4 separate regions of the Homo sapiens genome follow, and all the other regions are linked to region 3. Evidence: promoter capture Hi-C in human tissues and cell types (Jung and others, 2019). All regions are on one chromosome and are shown on one strand. Each heading gives the region's core, a stretch centred on a gene start or on the middle of the fragment in contact. The rest is flanking DNA. Distances are from core to core; before and after follow the strand shown. Region 1 overlaps ZNF136 (zinc finger protein 136). Region 2 has its middle 12 kb from the start of ZNF20. Region 3 holds the start of ZNF491 (zinc finger protein 491). Region 4 overlaps ZNF44 (zinc finger protein 44).

Evidence for each region. The method cuts DNA at HindIII sites, captures the fragments that hold promoters and counts their contacts. A contact is called where the count stands out against the background at its distance.
Region 1: a contact is called between a fragment that was not itself captured here and the fragment with the promoter of ZNF491 in region 3, in 2 of the 25 tissues and cell types used here (dorsolateral prefrontal cortex and spleen).
Region 2: a fragment that was not itself captured here is called in contact with the fragment with the promoter of ZNF491 in region 3 in 1 of the 25 tissues and cell types used here (dorsolateral prefrontal cortex).
Region 4: a fragment that was not itself captured here is called in contact with the fragment with the promoter of ZNF491 in region 3 in 1 of the 25 tissues and cell types used here (spleen).

The regions. Positions count from the first base shown.
Region 1 is chr19:12,179,270-12,182,061 of GRCh38, forward strand. The region is part of intron 1 of ZNF136 (zinc finger protein 136); the gene reads left to right. Among named protein-coding and RNA genes, the nearest start is that of ZNF136, 18 kb to the left of the region's middle. The HindIII fragment of the contact is 3,876 bases long and covers 1-2,792 here.
Region 2 is chr19:12,126,980-12,129,851 of GRCh38, forward strand. No RefSeq gene overlaps it. Among named protein-coding and RNA genes, the nearest start is that of ZNF20, 12 kb to the right of the region's middle. The HindIII fragment of the contact is 9,523 bases long and covers 1-2,872 here.
Region 3 is chr19:11,797,154-11,799,853 of GRCh38, forward strand. ZNF491 (zinc finger protein 491) reads left to right here and starts at 1,370. Exons shown (of 3, transcript NM_152356.4): 1 at 1,370-1,574. RefSeq lists a silencer at 362-531 and enhancers at 625-1,136, 1,362-1,461, 1,472-1,631. The HindIII fragment of the contact is 4,685 bases long and covers 1-2,700 here.
Region 4 is chr19:12,275,678-12,278,438 of GRCh38, forward strand. ZNF44 (zinc finger protein 44) reads right to left here. Exons shown (of 4, transcript NM_016264.4): 2 at 279-405. Among named protein-coding and RNA genes, the nearest start is that of ZNF44, 18 kb to the right of the region's middle. The HindIII fragment of the contact is 9,813 bases long and covers 1-2,761 here.

The DNA.
Region 1 (2,792 bases), core at 148-2,647, 380 kb after region 3:
GGTGTATCAATAGGAGAGCGCTCAAAAGAATTTCTTTTTTTTTTTTTCTTTTTTTTTTGAGATGGAGTCTCACTCTGTCGGCCAGGCTGGAGTGCAAGTGGCACAGTCTGGGCTTACTGCAACCTCTGCCTTCCAGGTTCAAGCTATTCTCCTGCCTCACCCTCCTGAGTAGCTGGGATTACAGGCACAGGTCACCATGCCTGGTTAATTTTTGTATTTTTTATAGAGACGGGGTTCCTCCATGTTGGCCAGGGTGGTCTCGATCTCCTGACCTCAGGTGGTCTGCCAGCCTCGGCCTCCCAAAGTGCTGGGATTACAGGCGTGAGCCACCACACCCAGCCCAAAAGAATTTCTTCTAGGACGTGTGCTTGCTTCAGGTGTATTGATTGCTATTCAAAGCAAGAAGCTTCTCTGGATTGTATACTATGAAGAAGCAAGGTTATTTCTGGCCTTGGTTATTATGATAGTTCTTACCCAGAAGTAAAAAAGATGGAGTGGCGCTAAGTTTATTACCTAAACACTGAAATATTTCTTATGATGAATTAGACATGGCTTCCCATAAGATACCTCAGTTGAAATATATAAATTCTAACTATTGATAATTTTTTTTTTTTGAGACAGAGTCTGGCTCTGTTGCCCGGGCTGGAGTGCAGTGGCGCAGTCTCGGCTCACTGCAAGCTCCACCTCCCGGGTTCACACCATTCTCCTGCCTCAGCCTCCCGAGTAGCTGGGACTACAGGTGCCCGCCACCACACCCGGCTAATTTTTTTGTAATTTTAGTAGAGACGGGGTTTCACCATGTTAGCCAGGATGGTCTTGATCTCCTGACCTCGTGATCTGCCTGCCTCGGTCTCCCAAAGTGCTGGGATTACAGGCGTGAGCCACCGCCCCCGGCCAACTACTGATAATTTTTAAAAGTCTCCCTTATTAGTCAAATTAGGCTAATGCCTCTAGGAAAGTTGTCAGAATATAAACCTAGCAAGGGACAGAGACATGATCACTATTCTAATCAAGCCTCTCTTGCTCAGATAATATGCTCTTGATGCTAATTTTTCAATATGCCTCATATGCCAGAACTGTAGACTCAGAACATCCAGAATTAAGCACAAATGATGCAGGCACTGAAGGCTCTGATATGGGAACACAAAGTGAATAAATTCTTGAAATCCTGGTGCTTATATTTTTGTGAGAAAGGAGAGGGGTTGAAAAAATGGTAAGACTGGTTTATAAGAAGGAAATAAGCACTTTGAAGGAAAGTAAATGATGGTGTGAGATAATACGGAAGCTGAGGGTGTGTGTATATGTTCTCTGTGGAGGGTGGCAACATCAGTGAGTGAAGAAATGTCACCATCGGTCATTTATATTTCCACCTCTTATACATCTTCAGCACCATTTCAGGAACTGCTTAAGTGTGGATGTAGATAGTGCATAGCAATATAGACAGTCCTGCCTTTTTGAGGTTAACAATAATGATTCCCCGTAAAGATATAGGTATGGCTTATTGTCATTTTTGCATTGGTTAAAAATTTTAATGCATGTAATATGTGATGCTGACTTTGGACATGGGTATCTGGAACCTGGAGGAAGGCACACCACTGCATACGGTGTGTGCTAGAACCACGTTGGATCCCTGTTGAAACATCTTAAGTGTTCTGCCCCTTAAGCCACAGGGGCGGAGCCTGAAGTTATATCCAGTTAGGGGTGCCAGGATGGCATCCTACTTATTGTCCAATCAGGCGCGCCTCAGAGCCCTGTCTGCCCCCAACCTCACCCCACCCTGTACGATCTTGTGGTGAATTTTCTTTTCTTGAGCTGGCTGCATTACCTTTCTTCTGGCTCCTGGCTCCACTGCCCTGGCTCTGTGCTCTGTGCTGGCCGTGGTAGCCGGAGGGAGGACCCAGGAGACCCCGAAGATGGGAAATGGCGAGTGTGGGAAATGGCAAGTGTGCAGGGGCCTGGGGTCCGACATGGCTGGAGGGGCCCAGGCCTCCTCGCCATCAGCATCCGATTCTGTTTCATCTGAGTTGCTCAAATGTGTGGGAAGCAGGGTATCAAATCCACCCCCGGCCTAACTCTCCTTGATCTGGCAGCAAACTGCTAAATTGTAGGTATAATTTCTGCAGTCCCCAACACCAGCTTCTGTTCTCGGATGCACAGTGTTATCAACTATTTGGTTTTTTTGTTTTGTTTTGTTTTTGCATTTGTTTTTGTTTTTTTTTTTTTGGTGGAGTCTCATTCTGTCGCCGAGGCTGGAATGCAGTGGCGCAATCTCCACTCACTGCAATGTCCGCCTCCTGGATTCAAGCGATTTTCCTGCCTCAGCCTCCTGAGTAGGTGGGATTACAGGCACCTGCCACCACGCCCAGCTAATTTTTTTTGGGGGGGGACAGAGCCTCACTGAGTCGCCCAGGCTGGAGGGCAGTGGTGTGATCTTGGCTCACTGCAAGCTCCGCCTCCCGGGTTCACACCATTCTCCTGCTTCAGCCTCCCGAGTAGCTGGGACTACAGGCACCCACCACTACGCCCGGCTAATTTCTTTGTATTTTTAGTAGAGACAGGGTTTCACCATATTAGCCAGGATGGTTTCGATCTCCTGACCTCGCAATCCGCCTGTCTCTGCCTCCCAAAGTACTGGGATTACAGGTGTGAGCCACCGCGCCCGGCCATTTTTTTGTGTTTTTTAGTAGAGATGGGGTCTCACCGTGTTGGCCAGGCTGGTCTCGAACTCCTGACCTCAAGTGATCTACCCACCTTGGCCTCCCAAAGTGCTGGAATTACAGGTGTGAGTCACC
Region 2 (2,872 bases), core at 135-2,634, 330 kb after region 3:
ACTCTACTCTACTGTATTTATGTTATGTTATGTTGTTATGTTATGTTATGTTATGTTATGTTATGTTATGTTATGTTATGTTATGTTATTTTAGAGACAAGGTCTTGCTCTGTTGCCCAGGCTGGAGTGCAGTGTTGCAGTCTCAGCTCACTGCAACCTCTGCCTCCCAGGTTCAAGTGATTCTCCTGCTTCAGCCTCCCGAGTAGCTGGGATTACAGGTGGCCACCACCCCAGCCGGCTAATTTTTGTACTTTTAGTAGAGACAGGGTTTCACTATGTTGGCCAGGCTGGTCTAGAACTCCTGACCTCAAGTGATCCGCCCGCCTTGGCCTCCCAAAGTGCTGGGATTATAGGCATAAGCCGCCGTGCCTGGCCCCTGAAATACTTTTTAATATAGGGTGTAAGCCAGGCGCGGTGGCTCACATCTGTAATACAAATACAAATACAAAAATTAACCAGGTGTGGTAGTGCGTGCCTGTAATCCCAGCTACTCGGGAGGCTGAGGCAGGAGAATTGCTTGAACCCAGCAGGTGAAGGTTGCAGTGAGCTGAGATCGCACCACTGCACTCAAGCCTGGCGACAGAGCGAGACTCTGTCTCAAAAAAAAAAAAAGTGTGTAACAGTTGGTGAAAAGGTTCAAAAAAAAAAAGAAAAGAAAAGAAAGGTGACACTTAAATTTACATGACTTTTTTTTTTTTTTTTTTGAGACAGCGTCTTGCTCTGTCACCCAGGCTGGAGTGCAGTGGCACAATCTTGGCTCAATGCAAGCTCTGCCTCCCAGGTTCATGCCATTCTCCTGCCTCAGCCTCCTGAGTAGCTGGGACTACGGGCGCCCGCCACCACGCCCGGCTAATTTTTTGTATTTTTAGTAGAGACAGGGTTTCACCATGTTAGCCAGGATGGTCTCGATCTCCTGACCTCGTGATCTGTCTACCTTGGCCTCCCAAAGTGCTGGGATAACAGGCGTGAGCCACCGCACCCAGCCTACATGACTTAACTTTTTACCTTGTTAAACAGAGAGCAATCAACCCTGTGAACGTTATGTTCCAGATTCTGACAAGTGTGTTGAAAAAATTCTACACACTAAATGAAATAGGAGTAATGGGTGAGAGAGTGTGACCTTGAGTTTCAAGTTGGGGTAAGGGGGGCGGAAAAGAAGACAGTGTCTTGAGGTGGTGACATCTGTAGTGAGATCTGAAATGACGTGTTAGTATATGAAGTCAGGAAAGAGGATTCTGGGAAGATGGCAGAATAGGAAGTATCAAGCAGAAACTACAGGAAGCCATTTTTGTGAACTGAGTTCCTCTGCTGGGCCCTCAGAAACCAGACCTACCCCAGCGATTAGGAAATTACACCTAGGCAATCGTCATTGCCCCACACGCTACAAAGAACGTTCAGTAGACAATGGCTTGAGAAATGCGCCCAGTCCAATCTTTGGGTAAGCCAGGTGCAGAGATGTACAAAAAGACTGTCCTTGGCAAAGTTCTATGGTCACATGATGTTTGAGGCAGTTCTGCATATCATATGAGGGCCTTATTGGAGTTCTTGTGTATCTCTGCCAAGAGAGTACTGCACAGCAGAGGTCATTATTGCAACTTCCGTGCCATTTATTTATTTTGAGACAGAGTCTTGCTCTTTTGCCAGGCTGAAGTGCAGTGGCACGATCTCAGCTCACTGCAGTCTCTGCCTCCCGGGTTCAAGGGATTCCTCTGCCTCAGCCTCCTGAGTAGCTGGGACTATAGGAGCCCGCCACCACGCCCGGCTAATTTTTTGTATTTTAGTAGAGACAGGTTTCACCATGTTGGCCAGAATGGTCTCAATCTCCTGACTTCATGATCCGCCCGCCTCGGCCTCCCAAAGTGCCGGGATTACAGGCATGAGCCACTGCACCCAGCCACTTCTGTGCCATTTAATTGTTCACCAGTTGCCACAGGTCTATCTGTGTACACCTGAGTTGCTTGAGTGGTTCTAAACAAATGAATTTAACTTTCATTGTGGTGTTGAATTTTTGTATATACCTTTTATGAATTATTTTGACCGTGGGCTGACCAATATCATGAGTAAAAGATTTAAAAGGTCTAGAGGAGCCAGGCATGTTGGCTCATGCCTATAATCCCAGCACTTTGGGAGGCCGAGGCAGATGGATCGCTTGAGGCCAGGAGTTTAGAGACCAGTCTGGCCAACATGGTGAAACTCCAATTCTACAAAAAACACAAAAATTAACTGGGCATGGTGGTGTTCGCCTGTAGTGCCAGCTACTTGGGAGGTTGTGACGAGACTTGCTTGAACCTGGGAAGCAGAGGTTGCAGTGAGCTGAGATCGTGCCACTGCAATTCAGCCTAGGCAACAGAGCGACACTCTGTCTCAAAAAAAAAAAAAAAAAAGCCATAGGTAGGAAGCAAAATGTAAATAATGAGAAAAATATATATCTTAAGTTCACATTTGAAATATGTAAGAAAATTTGGTGATGCTGCAAATAAACTGAGGATTGTAATTATATAAATTACAAGTTTTTCCTGAGAAAAAACACATTTTCAACCTAAGTACATTGATCTTAAAGGATTTTTCCTTTGCTTTTTGACCTTGCTTTGTGAAAAAGTGCAAAAATAAGACATGAATAGTCAAAATAAGAATTTTTGGGCCAGGCGTGGTGGCTCACACTTATAATCCCAGCACTTTGGGAGGCCGAGGTGGGCGGATCACGAGGCCAGGAGATCGAGACCATCCTGGCTAACATGGTGAAACCCTGTCTCTACTAAAAAAAAAAATACAAAAAAATAGCCAGGCGTGGTGGCGGGCACCTGTAGTCCCAGCTACTCGGGAAGCTGAGGCAGGAGAATGGCGTGAACCAGGGAGGCGGAGGCTTGCAGTG
Region 3 (2,700 bases), core at 120-2,619:
ATGATCTTCTTTGTCTTTTTGTACTGTTTTTTATTTAAAGTCTATTTTATCTGATACAACTATCACAACTCTTGCTGAAGCACAGTGGCGAGATCATAGGTCACTGAAGCTTCAAACTCCTGGGCTCAAGATCTTCCCACCTCAGCCTCCCGAGTAGCTGGGACTACAGGTTCAGGACACCACGCACTGCTAATTTTTAAATTTTTAGTACAGACGAGGTGTGGCTCCGTTTTCCAGGATGATGAACTCCTGGGTTCAAGCAGTCCTCCCGCTTCAGCCTCCAAAAGGGTTGGGATTATAGGCGTGAGCCCCCGCACCCTGCCTGCAAGTCTTTTAATTCACTTCAATTATCTTAGAATTTTCCTTCCCCACTTTATACATACGTACAGTGGAACTGAGGGTGTTTGTCTCAGGTAACCGATCAATGAAGTGAATAACCTGTAGGGGGCAGCAGAGCCTAAGGCCAGTGACACCCTGCTGAGGCCAGTCTGGAGCCGGCAAAGGGAGGGAAAGGGAGCTCCCCTGGGTGTTTCCCGGGCAGCCTGCCCTCTACTGCAGGTGGCCTCCAGCTGCTCAGAACAGCTGCGGAAGGAATGTGGATCCTGAGAAGCTACAGAGCCCTGGAAAGCAGGAGACTCACGTGCAGGTGCACTTTGTGTAGGGGGGTTGGGGGGAGGTTCTGTCCTTACTGGGGCTGTACCTAGAGCCTAGGGACGTTTTGCGGGGGCAGTGTTTGGTTTTTACGTGCAAAGGGTCCCGGCGACAGACTGTAATTTGTACATACAAAGATAATCTGTGAAGATCAGGCTCAGTAAGATTTGTCTGACATGTCACCTGGAGAAAGGGTTTGTGAAGGTAATAGTTTACTTAGGTTAGAAGCTTAAACTGACCCCAGGTGAGAACTTCTGCTGGTGAAAATGAAGTCTAGGGGGAGGAAGCGGTTCCATATTCAGGGGTGGGACGGGGGGAGTGTGAGGAAGTCTCATCCCCAATTCCCGCCCTGTAGAGGACACCTGCCTCTCCCTCCTGGTGCAGTCTTGCCTGGCCTGGCCTGGCCTGGATTTCCTTCCTGCTATGAGGCAAAGGAATGACTCCATTGAACACCGAGTCTGGAATTCCCAGCACACATTTCTGAAAGATCGAGGAAGCTAACAGTGCCCCTTCTAACAATAAGTAGCAAGTTTGGCTGAAATGCAGATAGCCAACGACCAGGGCGCAGGGAGTGAGCTTAGCCTTAGAAAGGCTGTAGCTAGGATTAATCAGCCGGGCTCTGCAGGGCTCCGTTACCCAGGGCTTACCCTGTCACTCAGGGCTGAGGGGCGGAGCCTGGAACCCCATCCAATCAGGGGCCCTGGGACGGGGCCCTGCCAACTGTCAATCCGGGGAAGCAGAAGGCCGCACTCAGAGTCTCTGCACTCCTTTGTTGCTGGGGTCCGTTGCGTTCTGCATCCAGTCCTTGCTGCTCCGAGAGGCCCCAGGTGCCTCCGCCACGGCTCCTGTGACGCTGTCACCTGCGCTGTGACCTGCTCCGGAGTCATAAAGAGGACGCCGGGACACCAAGAAGCAGGGAAATGGTAAAGTGCCCGGCCTAGCGTCCAGATACGTGGAAGAGGGGCTGGGTGGAACCAACAGGATCCTGCTGTGGCGGGACCCAGGCCTCCGCTCGGGCGACCCCGGCGATTGGGACCCGCGTCCCCCATGGCGTGGCTTGGCCCTCGGTCCGCTCGGCCGCCAGGTGGGGCTGGGCCCGCAGCTGGGACCCCGGGCGTCCTGTCCCGTCCCTACGCGGCGACTGCGGCCCCGGCCCCGGAGTCCTCTCTGGGCAGCTCCGCGCCCGCAGCCCGGCGTCTTCCCAGATTGTGCGGGGGCCACGGGAGGGTCATGGGGGGTCGGATGTGTCCCGCCTTTCTTCTGCTAAAAATTAAACTGAGGCTCTGTTAACAGTTAAAGAGTTTGTTGGAGCAACAGCGATTCCGAGTGAGAAACACCCGGTCATGGCTTGTGATTGAAGAAAAGGCTTTTATAAGTTGCATGAGGAGGCAAACAGGATTAAATACTTGATTAGTTACAGTGATGCTGTCGCCGTATGTGGACTTGTCAACCTGAAATAAAAGAATCAGATTCCAGTTTTTTAAAGTTTACTCAAGCAAGAAGCTGGGAATGGCCCATTTGGGAAAACACAGGATCCACGGAAATGGGCTCAGTGTTTCAAATTTAAAAGTTTAAGTTCTTGCTTATATAGGCAAGAAATTTAACAGGATTACAACGTTTTTTATACAAGGCTAGTTTGTGAGGCACAACAATTTAATCAGAGTTTGGCCCGCCCCCCTCCCCCCGCCCCCATAGAGCTTTTTTTTTTTTTTCTTTACATTTGGGTTTCATTTCCTTTCCAATTTAAAAGAGTATATTTAACATTCCAGCGTAAGGCAAGGTGATGCCAGCGTGGACAACATGGCGAGACCCCGTCTGTACAAAATATTTTAAAAAATTAGTCGGGTATGGCCGGGCGCGGTGGCTCACGTCTACAATCCCAGCACTTTGGGAGGCCGAGGCGGGCGGATGACGAGGTCAGGAATTCGAGACCATCCTGGCCAACATGGTGAAACCCCGACTCTACCAAAAATACAAAAATTAGCTGGGCGTGGTGGCACGTGCCTGTAATCCGGCTACTCGGGAGGCTGAGGCAAGACAATCGCTTGA
Region 4 (2,761 bases), core at 34-2,533, 480 kb after region 3:
CTTACTTTATTCTGAGAATACAGTATGCAATACATATGACATATATGTGCTCGTCACTTGTTTATATGACTGATAAGGCTGCTGGTCAAAAGTAGGTTAAGCTGTGGCAGACAAAAGATTATATGAGGACATACAACAGGTTGGGGCCTGGCACTTCACCCTGTGTTGTTCAGGAATGAACTGTATCCCTTTTCCATATTTCAAATCACTGAACAGCATTGATGACCACAAAACAAATGTCTCTAATTGACCAAATGAAGACATGATGTCATCCATACCTATACAGTTCAGGTTCCTAATGGTTTCTCGCATCACATCTCTGTAGAGATTCTTCTGTGATGGACCCAGCAAAGCCCACTCCTCATGGGTGAAGTTCACAGCCACATCCTCAAAGGCCACTGAGTCCTGAAACATCCCATATGTCCAGAAAAGGAAGGTTGAAACTCACAGTACTGAGAACCTATACTCACCTTCATAAACTTCCCATGATGCTGTGGTTTCCAAGCATTTATTCAATGACGTGGTAAATCCACTCTTATTCTGTGTCTGCACTCACTGTCTGATGCTGGAATTCTGATGCTGGAATTGGGCTTGCTAAAATAACAGTTGAGTAGGAACATATCTCTTATTGGTGAATTATGCAAGTGAATCTTATTGCCTGGATTACTCCTAATGTCTGTTTCTACAGTGGGTCTGTAGTCCTTGTCATGACAAAGTCCTACCACCTACTGTGCAAAAGAGAGTTACAATTAGCAGTCCTGAGACGGCATATCCTTACAACTGCTTGTTCACAATGTTGAACCTTTCGTGGTGTCTAGACAATGTATTTAGGGGAGGGCCCCGTAAGCATAACTAATAAAGGGGGTGGAGTGTGCCTAAACTATTTGTGTAAAAATTATGGTATTTGCTTAACTCCTAACTTCCCTCTGAGAGTTTGGAATTGTATTACATCCTCAGCAGAGGAAGTGTACCCAATCAGCCACTGCTAGGTTTGAATGTCTTCCCCTCCAAAATGCAGGCTGAAACTGAATCTCCAATGTGGAAGTAATCAAAGGTAGTGGTTTAAGAGGTGAGTGGGTCTTGAGGGTTTGGAACACATGGATGGATTAATCCACTCATGTATGAATGGCTTAATAAATAAACTGGTTATCACAGATGAGGTTCTGGTGTCCTTATGAGAAGAGGAAGATACTTCAGCTAGACACTCAGCCCCCTCATCATGTAATGCCCTGTACCACCCAGGGACTCTACAGAGTCCCCATCAGCAAGAAGATTCCCACCAGATGCCCACTTTGACCTTACTTGATCTTCCCAGCTTTCAGAACTGCAAAAAATAAATATCATTTCTTATAGATTACCCCAGTTCTGGTATCCTGTTGTAAGTAACAAAAAAACAGTCTTATAGACTAAGACATACACAAAGAAACACTCTAGGCACAGGGTCCCTAATGTGCAACTCTGGTAGATGATATTTCATATTTTTGTTGTTGTTGTTTTTTCAATGTCTTACTTGGGGGATTTAGCCTATCCTACGTGATTACACAGAGAGAATATTTGGAAGCTGGTGACTGGTTCCCTGTAGATCAAATGTAGTTAAGTATGACAAAAGACTAATAAAAGAGATTTTACCAACTAAATAGAAAAAATTGTAACTTTCTACTGGGTAATGTCGAAGGAGAAAGAAAAGAAGAGGACAGACTGCAAATGTTCTTAGACAGAATTCAGTGTCAGCTTTCATGAATATCAATTATATTCCATAAATCTCAACAGCAGACATTTAATAATCAATAACATTACATAAACCAATTTTTATAGAAGTCATAAATGTCTAAAGATGCTTAAAAAAAACCTTCTCATCAAGAAAGTAGACAGCTTTACAAAAACAAACAGAAGATTTAAAACTGTAATTTTTCACATCCCATACTATTAACAGAGAGAAAAAGATACATAAACAGGAAAGTGAAAAATGATAGAAAAGCCTTGTATTGTTTTTTCTTTGGCCCCATCTCTGCCCATCTCATTGCCAGTCCTGAAGACAGCAGAGTTCCCAGTGTAGAACTCTGATCACCACAGAGTGTACAGATCACATTTTGTTTCCACATTATTGCCTTTGTATTTTTGAATCAGTCTGGGGACTAACCGAAGGTCTGAAACAAGGCTCTCTTTTCTATTTCATCTACAACAGAATCCAATCAGAGTCAAACTGGGCAGGAACTACTTTAAAATGTTGTAAAATACACAAAAAGTGTGCAACCACCTAGGACAACACAAGATGACTAAGACATACATTAGAAGGCCAGGTGTGGTGGCTCACACCTGTAATCCCAGTACTTTGGGAGGCCAAGGTGTTGGGAACAGGCCCCCAAATCTAGCCATAAACAAAATCTCTGCAGCACTGTGACATGCTCGTGATGGCTATGACGCACATGCTGAAGGTTGTTGGTTTACCGGAATGAGGGCAAGGAACACCTGGCCCACCCAGGGTGGAAAACTGCTTAAGGCGTTCCTGAACCACAAACAATAGCATGGGCCATCTGTGCCTTAAGGACAAGTTCCTGCTGCAGATAACTAGCCAGAGCCCTTCCCTTTGTTTCCCGTAAGGAAGGCTTTTAGTTAGTCTATAATCTATAGAAACAACGCTTATCACTGGCTTACTGTCAATAAATATGTGGGTAAAACTCTGTTTGTGGCTCTCAGCTCTGAAGGCTGTCAGCCCCCTGATTTCCCACTCCACACTCTAAATTTCTGTGTGTGTGTGTCT